2 separate regions of the Homo sapiens genome follow, and region 2 is linked to region 1. The links are contacts of gene promoters, found by promoter capture Hi-C in blood cells and fetal thymus (Javierre and others, 2016). All regions are on one chromosome and are shown on one strand. Each heading gives the region's core, a stretch centred on a gene start or on the middle of the fragment in contact. The rest is flanking DNA. Distances are from core to core; before and after follow the strand shown.

Evidence for each region. Contacts are between HindIII fragments. The CHiCAGO score rates a contact against its expected background, and 5 or more counts as called.
Region 2: a fragment that was not itself captured here is called in contact with the fragment with the promoter of PITPNM3 in region 1 in 2 of 17 cell types (M1 macrophages and total B cells); the score reaches 6.3 in M1 macrophages.

The regions. Positions count from the first base shown.
Region 1 is chr17:6,554,768-6,559,299 of GRCh38, reverse strand. It overlaps PITPNM3 (PITPNM family member 3), which reads left to right and starts at 2,745. Exons shown (of 20, transcript NM_031220.4): 1 at 2,745-2,915. The coding sequence starts at 2,894. RefSeq lists an enhancer at 3,834-4,480. The HindIII fragment of the contact is 11,474 bases long and covers 1-4,532 here.
Region 2 is chr17:5,611,354-5,615,885 of GRCh38, reverse strand. No RefSeq gene overlaps it. Among named protein-coding and RNA genes, the nearest start is that of NLRP1, 29 kb to the right of the region's middle. The HindIII fragment of the contact is 494 bases long and covers 2,496-2,989 here.

The DNA.
Region 1 (4,532 bases), core at 1,496-3,995:
GGATTTGATCTGGTCTCCTGGCACAGTAACTCTGGTAACTGGGAGAGTTACTGGCACAGTAACTCTGGTAACTGGGAGGCCCCGTAGGCCCTGGCTGGCTCCTGCCTCTCTTTCCTCCGGGCAGCAGAGGTCAGCGTGGCTAAATTGCTAGTTATCCCTTTCTTCAATTAAGGACAATTCTTCTGACGCAGGAAGTTAACTCCCACCAGTTAATCTAATGGCCTTGAGTTTTGATGTGTTTGCTCTGTCAGAAGGCTGGGCTGGAACTTCCTTGGCAGCTGGTAACAGTCAGTGCCTTCAGGGGCTGCCTTAGGGGCGGACAGAGGCTGGGGTGAAGGTTTAAAGAGGGGAACCATGGATCTGGGCCTCTGAGTCGTGGTTTTCAGGGGACAGATCTGGCTTACTGTCTTCCCATCTGAGAAATGGGGTGTGGAGTGGTCTGGAGAGATGAGTTCTGAAACTCCCATCAACTTGGCACCTCCCCTTAACCGCTCCACCCAGGCCCTTCTGGGTGACTAGTTTAGGGTTTGTGAGGACTAAGTGGTGGGAGGGGAAGGGGTCTGGGTGCCCACCCAGGGAGCATCTGTCAGCAGGTGTTTGCCTGTGTTTGTGTGTACGAGTGTGCCTACACACACCCATGCATGCATCCCTAAGCACACACAAGCACACACACATACACCCCATGCACACATACCCAGGCACACACACAAACACAACGTGAAGCTGTGCCCAGAAGCAGGAGGGCCCTTGATGCCCTCTGGTCACTGCTGCTACTGTGAGCCAGGGCTGGGGAGGAGCTCAGGCCCAGGCGTGTCCCCTCTGTGGCAGGCGCATTGCTTCTTCTGCAGCCAGCGTTCTGTCTCCTGCGTGACCACTCACACCTACAGACCAGGTGGCCAAGCCTGGACATTGTCCAGGCTATCAGGCCTCTGAAACACCTCAGGGAAGGGTGAGGCCAGTGAGGCCCAGTAGACAAAGCACAGGGGCCTGAAATTGATCCTCCATGACCACAAGCACCGAACTTTCTTAGCCCCCACTTCGTTATGTGTATGCTGAGGATAACGCAATGTAGCTGAGAGAGTACATGAGGGTAAATACCGCCTGTTCAATCAATAGTCCTTGTTATTCTCATCCCCAGTCCCATTCTCATAGTGGGGAAAGGCTGCAGGGTCCATTCCTGCTCTCCCAGCTGGTGACCAATGGCAGGTGCTGGTGAACAGCGTTGGATTCAGGAGCCCAGAGCTTCTGAAATTCTACATCTGTTGGAGTTGGTGCTGTCATCTGGCTCTGGGATCCAGAGCTCTTGGGACTCATGGGTTTCCTGGGAGGTGAGCTCTGGCAAACGTGGATGGTTGTTCTCCCTGGGTGAATCCATACTAGGGAGTTTGGGTAGAAGGCCTTGGGAAGCCCTGGTTTTGTTGGGTGAGGTGTCGGAAGGCAGAGCAGAACTCATGGATGGGACATGCGGGTTGTAGATTTCAGCTCAAACGAGTAAGAACATTCTTAAGGCCAGCACTAGCCAAAAAAAAAAAAAAAAAATTAATAAAAGGAAGAACTCTCACTTAAGATACTGAGCTTCCTGTCCTTGGAGGTAACCAACCAGGAGCTGGAGGACTGCTTAGCAGGAATCTTGTGAATGGAGTCAAAGCCCCAGAGAAGGCACTGGACTGAGAGCCCCCATCTAACCCCATGTGTGCCCTGTTTCCATAGAGGAGCTTGCAGGACCCTGGAGCCTGGACCATGGATGGAATTCTCCAGTTGACCTTTTCCCTGTTAAGTGGAGTGGGACAGGGTGGGTTGGGTGCCTGGCTCTACAGATGGTAACTGGGCTTCAGCCTTACCAATTCCTGGGGGAGGCAGGGCACCCTCTCAGTGGAGGGTTGTTACCTCTCAGGCACCGCCAAATACAATTGGCCATCTCCTGCTCTCTTTTGGGGCTGGACTGTGGATCCCTGCTGCCCCTAAACAGAAGTCATAACCCATATCTCCCCGGACCACAAGGCCTGTCCACTAGAATCTCTGCATCCCGATTTAGGAAGTGGAAGGCGGGTACTGCTCACCACCAGGCCGCTGGGGTCCACAAAGCCTGCTCCAGCCTAGAACCCCAGGTGGATGTGCAAGTGTTTTACTTATCCCTTGAGGGTTAAAATCACGGGAATCCTTTCTCTTTTGAGGTTAGGTCAGACGCCATAAATGATCCAGAACCCCTGGAGCGGGGGCTGATGGAGGGGGTCCCTCTCTTGTCTCTGATCCCAGAGCGACTTTCCTCTTGACTTCGTGGGGGCCTCCCTTGGATCCCTGTCCTCCTTCCTCTCTCCGCTCCCTCTGTCCGTCTCTCCCGGAGCCGGAGCCGGGCTCTGGGTCTCTGGTCTCCTCTGAATTTCTCTCTCTCTCCCTCCACCTCGGCGTTCTGGCCCTAGGAGCGTCTCTCTCCAGCGCTGTCTAATAGTCTGTGCGCCCCTCTCCCAGTCCAGGGCCCCGTCTCTGGCCCGCAGTGTCTCGGGCTGTCTCCGCGTCTCTGAGCCCCTGGGCTGCCGCCCCTCGCGCGCTGCGGTGGCCGCGCGGGCCGGAGCGGAGCGGGCTGGAGCGCGGCGGCCACGGCCCGGGGCGGGGGTGCGGGCCCGCGGGGGCGGCGTTGGGCGCCTTCCTTCGTCAGTCCCTCCCCGGCGGCGCGGGGGGTGGGGTGGGGGGGGGGCGCGGCCGCCGCTCGGCGCCTTTAAGGGAGCGGGAGGGAGCGGCGAGGCGGCGGCGGCTGCGGTGGCGGCAGCCGAGGCGAGCGGGGCGGGGGCGCGGGCGCGGCGCTCGGAGTCCGTTCGGGGCCGGAGGCGGTCGGGGCCGGGCCCGGGAAGCGCGAGGAGCGCGCGTAGCGCCGCCGGAGCCCGCCGCCCGGGACATGGCCAAGGCGGGCCGTGCAGGTGAGGGCGGGCGCGGGGAGGGCAGGGCCGGGGCCCGGGGGAGGGACTCGCGCGTCTAGAGGAGGGGCCGCCGGCCCAGGTGAACCCCTCGCGCAGGTGGGCGGAGGTCCCGGGAGGGCGTAGGGGGCGGTAGCGGGGCTGGACCTCCCGCGCGTGGAGAGGGGGCTCCGCGCGCCCCCCGTCCTTCCTGCGCCCCCGGTCACCTCGGGGGACACCGCGTCCCCTTCTCCACGGCCCCGCCGGAAAGGGCCAGGTCTGCGGCGCCCCGGGCCAGTCCCGCCGTTGGGAGCCCTCTGCACCCCGCGGAGGCCCCGGGCAGACCCGGGCTTCGCCACCGAAGGGGATGTCCCGCGGCCGCCGCTTCGTCCCACACCCCAACGCAAACCGGGACGCGCCCCCTGCTCCTGCAGCTCTCTCCATCCAGGACGCCACAACCCCCCGCCCCAGCCCCCGTCACCAGCTCAGTCCAGAGACCCAGATTCCTTCTCGGGAAGGAGGGGAGCCCCGTGCCGCGCCGGCTGCTGGCCGCCCCGCCCCCTCCCCCATCGACCCTGGGACGCAAAGCCTCAGCTGCGGAGGCCTCTTCTGGGGTCCCGTGGGCTCTGCCCTCCCCCAGGCTCAGACGGTGTAGCCTGTGGTTTGAGGGAGCGGGCATTAGTCATTCGTTCATTCATCCAGCCCGACGTTCATTCACTAGCATCTGCTCTGTGCCAGACCCTGAGCTGGGCACCGGGGCTCAGGCGGACTCAGCCCCCCTGCTGCGCCCATGCTGGGGAGACCCAGGCCCGTGACTCATCGGGCACATTCTGGGCCCGATGGTGCCTTGGGAGGCGGGTGGAGGACAGCTGTGCCCACAGGGCCGGCCATACAGTAGGCGGCAGCAAGCCTGGTCTCGGCAGTGCCTCTTGTGAGGCTGGCGTGTGAGAATCTACCATGAACTCACACCCAACCCGTGACGTTGGCTGGTGCCATGCCGTCCCCCAGGACCGGGCGCGACAGTGAAGGAATGGGTGTGAATACCATCGGGCTGTGTGTCAATCCACCCCCAAGCCCGAAAGCTGCCCGGGACCCTGGGCTGCGGACCCGTCTCCCTGTGCAGGCACTGAGCCTGTAAGATTTAGGTGCCTGAGAATGCACTCCCGTTCTGTCCCCAAGGAGTCCTGTCGGGGTGGGGCCGGTTGTGTGAGGCACAGCCAGTATGGAACACAGCTAAACAGCCTTCTCACTCCCCTCCCTTTTCCCCTCCTGAGGGAGGCACTGTGAGATGACACCAAGGAAGCTGAAAAAGGCTTCTTGCCTCCCTCTTTCCTCCACCGTGCCTGGGTCCTCACCCACCCCGACTCCTTAAAATGGCCTGTGGCAGGGCGTGTGTCCCATCTGCTGCCCTACCCTGTGTGTGTGTGAGTGTGTGTGTGCACTGGGACGCCTTGAGCACAGGTCACCTGCCAGGGCACTGTCATCGCAACGGCAGTGAACATTTGCTGCTTGTTCTATGTATTAGGCAGAGTGCTAAGCTCTTTACTGTACCGTGATCCTGGGAGGGAGGAAATGCGACTCTCCCACTTTTAAAACATCTAGAAACAGATACTCAGAGAAATAGCAGCCTCAAGGTGGCTT
Region 2 (4,532 bases), core at 1,493-3,992, 940 kb after region 1:
GGGAAAATTCCCTTTGGAGCCTGGGCTCCCCTTACATCTGCCACTTTCTCCCTTAGTCACATAACTATCCTCAAATTAGCAAGATGCCTGTATGCCTTAAATTAAGAGCAGACTGGTGCAGCATCAGGATGCACCAGTCTAAATTTAGACCCAGTGTTCTGTGGAAATGAAAGAGCATGTTTGGGTTTTAATAATAGAATTTTAAAAGACTGGTAGATCACTTGTGCGTGGGTCACCCAGCTCCTGAACACCTGGGTATTCTCAGTAACAGCTATAACTATACAGTCTGATACATCAGGAGTTGCATTAAGAAACTCGTAACAGAAAATGGCAATAATTTTTTTTCTCTCTTATATACAAGAAGCCCTGGGATAAACAGAAGAAAATATTCTGTAGTAAATAGAAGCCAGGATCTTCCATCTTTATGTTCTATCACCCTTAGAACACGGCTTTCATCCTCAAGGTCACTTCCTGATGACTTTTGGGGCTCCAGTCATTATGTCTGTGTTCTAGGCAGAAAGCTAACAGGAGAGAAAAGGCCGGGCGCGGTGGCTCACACCTATAATCCCAACACTTTGGGAGGCCGAGGTGGGCGGATCACAAGGTCAGGAGGTTGAGACCATCCTGGCTAACATGGTGAAACCCTGTCTCTACTAAAAATACAAAAAATTAGACGGGCATGGCGGCGGGTGCCTGTAGTCCCAGCTACTTGGGAGGCTGAGGCAGGAGAATTGCTTCAACCCGGGAGGCAGAGCTTGCAGTGAGCAGAGATCATGCTACTGCAATCCAGCCTGGGTGACAGAGTGAGACTCTGTCTCAAAAAATAGAATAAAATAATTAAAATCAAAATTTAAAAAAAAAAACAGGAGAGAAAAGAGGGGGCAGAAGTCACATACCATTGCCTGCCCTTTGTTAAAGCACTTTCTCAGAAGCTCTACCCAACCACTTCTGCTCCCAACCTGTTGGTCACCTCTAGCTGAAGAGAGGCTGGAACACTTGGTCCTTTAGTTAGACCCATTGCCACACGAAATAGAATTGGGGCTCTGTTATGAAGAACAAAGAAGAGAATGGATATTAGGGAGGCAACTAGCATTCCTGGCTTCAGCCTGTATAAGAAAGTCCCATGAGTCTCTGTCTCTCTCTCTCTGGGGCCATATGAAGAGATAGGAGATGCCCCCCAAAACCTGCCACTGCTGTTGCACCAGCTGAGGCCTCCTGCAAGAATCAGGAGCAACCCTCCCCTGAGCAGACAAGGTTGACCCAGTTGCTCAGGGGCTCACAGGCAGCCAGACTGGAGCCTACCCTGCAGGGGCAGTGGGAAGCTGTAAGCCTTTCAGCCCGGACCTTCCCTTCTCCTCCTCACTGGGTTGCAGGATGTGGCACCAAAGCTTGGAAATCTGAACTGTCCATGAAGGGGTCACCCATACAAGAAAAGAAATTACTGTTCTCAGCACCACTTTCAAAAAAGGAAAATTAGCCTAGAGTCACACTGAGAAGACCTTAGAGAGACCACATCAACCCAAGGGTGGGCGTGGAGGGTCAGTACTAGAAGTCCAGAAAAACAGAGAGCAGGGCTGGGAGTGGTGGTCACCACTTTCCATCCCAGCTCCTTCTCTCGGGATTTCACAAGTCCAGGGAATGAGGGTGATCCAACTGTATGGGTAGCAGCACTGGAAACTCCCCTGCGGAAGCTGGAGAGACGGTGAGGAAGGGGTGGCTTCTGACCTCAAAGAAATTACATCCCAAGGAACTCACGTTGAAACCCAAATCAGAACGTAAGGAACGAGGTTCAGATGCTGACCCTGGGGGAGATGGACTGAGGAGGGAGGTGTCCTTCCAGTTTGGGGACTCAGAGAAGCCTGAGGGGGGCTAAGCTATTTTTCAAGCATAAGGATGATTGGTTATGGATGATTGGGCAGCATCCTTTGAAAAGTCAGTGTGACATGAGCAAAGCTAGGAGAGGGGACCTTGACAGCTGGGGGCTTTGACTCTGTCCCTCCCTCTTCCTCCTGCTTTTCCTTGAGCCCGTGAATTTCCTTACTGCTTCCTAAGGTGGATGGAAGGAAGCACTTCCGTCTGAGGCTAGCACTTCAGGCCCGACTGATTGCTTCAGCAAGCAAGGACCCACTAGTGCTCCTCTACCCCAGCCCACACCCACTGCCTAGATTCTGTCCACACAGCACTGGCGCTCAGTGCAATCTTTTGGACAAATTAATGTGTGAACAAATACAATTGCAAGGGGGCCACCAGAGCAGCTGAACCTGCTCTTTGAGGGATGTTCTCCATGCAGAGAAACACCAGTCTACAAAATGGACTTGTTTCAGGTCCACCCAGGACTATGGCTCAAAGGGAAAAGTGACCCGTAAAATATGTTTGTGCAGTAAAACGAATGATCGTAGTGTCAATTATTTAGAAACAAGCCCCTAATGTGAACAATCAGAAGTGAGGAAAAATCGATACACTTCTTCTCATTGTGTAGAAATGGAAAACAAGCTTCATTTTACTCCAGCCCCAGGGAGAAAAGAGCAAATTAATGATTCCTGTCAAGGGCTCCTGTGCTACGTCTCTACCCAGGGCCTGGCTCAGGAAGGTGCCAGATAAATGGGTTAGGAGGGTTCTAATCTCAGGCCCAAAATGCCCAAGTGAATCCAGGGTGCACGCATGTGCACACAACACACATAACACACAGAGGTGTACATATGTGTTCTCAAGTGCCTTATGCATGCGCACCCATGTACACACATGCCTGCACATAGTCATACACATACATAGACACATCTGTCTACACACACACGAGCAAAGATGACATGTTCACTCACACAGGTGCACGTATGAATATTCACACACGTGTGTGAGTACCTGAACACGGATGGCTATACCACTCACTCACATAGATACTTACCTGTGGGTCTCAGGCATATCATGCTTGCTGAGTTCAATTACAGTGCTGTATGTGTTGTGGCCAACTAATAAAGGAATAGCTGAAGCTTGCAGCCGTCCTAGGAATCTGCTGGCTTCTTCACCCCTATTTCGCCACCAAAAGGGCTCCCCTTACCCAAGACATGTAGACTTTTATGGAGAGGTATACACTTAGAAAGTCATGTTGGGCCGGGCACAGTGGCTCACGCCTGTAATCCCAGTCCTTTGGAAGGCCAAGGCAGGCTGATCACCTGAGGTCAGGAGTTCGAGACCAGCCTGACCAGTGTGGTGAAACCCCCGTCTCTACTAAAAATACAAAAGTTAGCCAGGCTTAGTGGCACGTGCCTGTGATCCCAGCTACTCCAGAGGCTGAGGCAGGAGAATCACTTGAACCCGGGAGGCGGAAGCTGTAGTGAGCTGAGATCGCGCCACTGCACTCCAGCCTGGGCGACAGAGTGAGACTCTGTCTCAAAACAAAAGGACATGTTGTGCATACACATAAAGCACACATTTAGGAATACTCGTATTGGTTTCCTGTTGCTATTTGTAACCAACTACCACAAACTTCGTGACTCAAATTTGTCATCTTAGAGTTCTGGAGGTCAGAACTCCAAAATGAGACTACGAGGCTAAAATCACAGTGTCAGCAAGCCTGCGTTCCTTCTGAAAGCTCTAGGGGAGAATTTGTGTCCTTGCCTTTTCCAGCTTCTGAAGGCTGTGTGCATTCTTTGGCTCATGGCCCCTTCCTCTATCTTCAAGGCCAGCAGCATAGCAGTTCAAAGGTCTCTCTGATCCTCTCTCTTCTATTTATAACGACCCTTGTGATTACATTGAGCCCACCCAGATCATCCAGGATAATCTCCCTTTCTGAAGGTCAGATGATTAGCAACCTTAATTCCATCTGCAACCTTAATTCCTCTTTGTCATTTCCAGGGACTGGGATGGGGACATATTTGGAGGTCCATTATTCTGCCTACCACACTCACACACATTCAGAGTAAGGAGAACGGCAGCGTTTGCAGGATGAGAGGCAGAAAAGCTTGCTGGTAAGAGTATGGGTTTTAGGGTCAGATCCACCACTGAGGTTTTTTTGTTGTTGTTTGTTTGTTTTTTGTTTTTTGTTTTGAGATGGAGTCTCCCCCTGTCGCTTAGGCTGGAGTGCAATGGTGCCATCTCAGCTCACTGCAATCTCCCCTTCCCAGGTTCAAGCGATTCTCCTGCCTCAGCCTCCTGAGTAGCTGGGATCAGAGGCGCCACCACGCCCAGCTAATTTTTGTATTTTTAGTAGAGACAGCCTTTCACCATGTTGGCCAGGCTGGTCTCAAACTCCTGACCTCAGGCAATCTGCCCGCCTCAGCCTCCCACAGTGCTGGGATTGCAGGCGTGAGCCACCGAGCCCAGCCTCCACCACTGAGTTCTAACTCTGGCTCTGCCTCACATAGCTGTGTGACCTTGGGCCTGTTTCAGAACCTTTCTACACCTCAGTTTCAGCATCTGTGAAATGGAAATAATCACATCTACATTCTGGGATTATTATAAGGGTTAAATGAGATAATGCATGCAAAGTGACTGGTAGAGTACCCATCAGTCAGCTTTGGCTGCAAAACAAACAA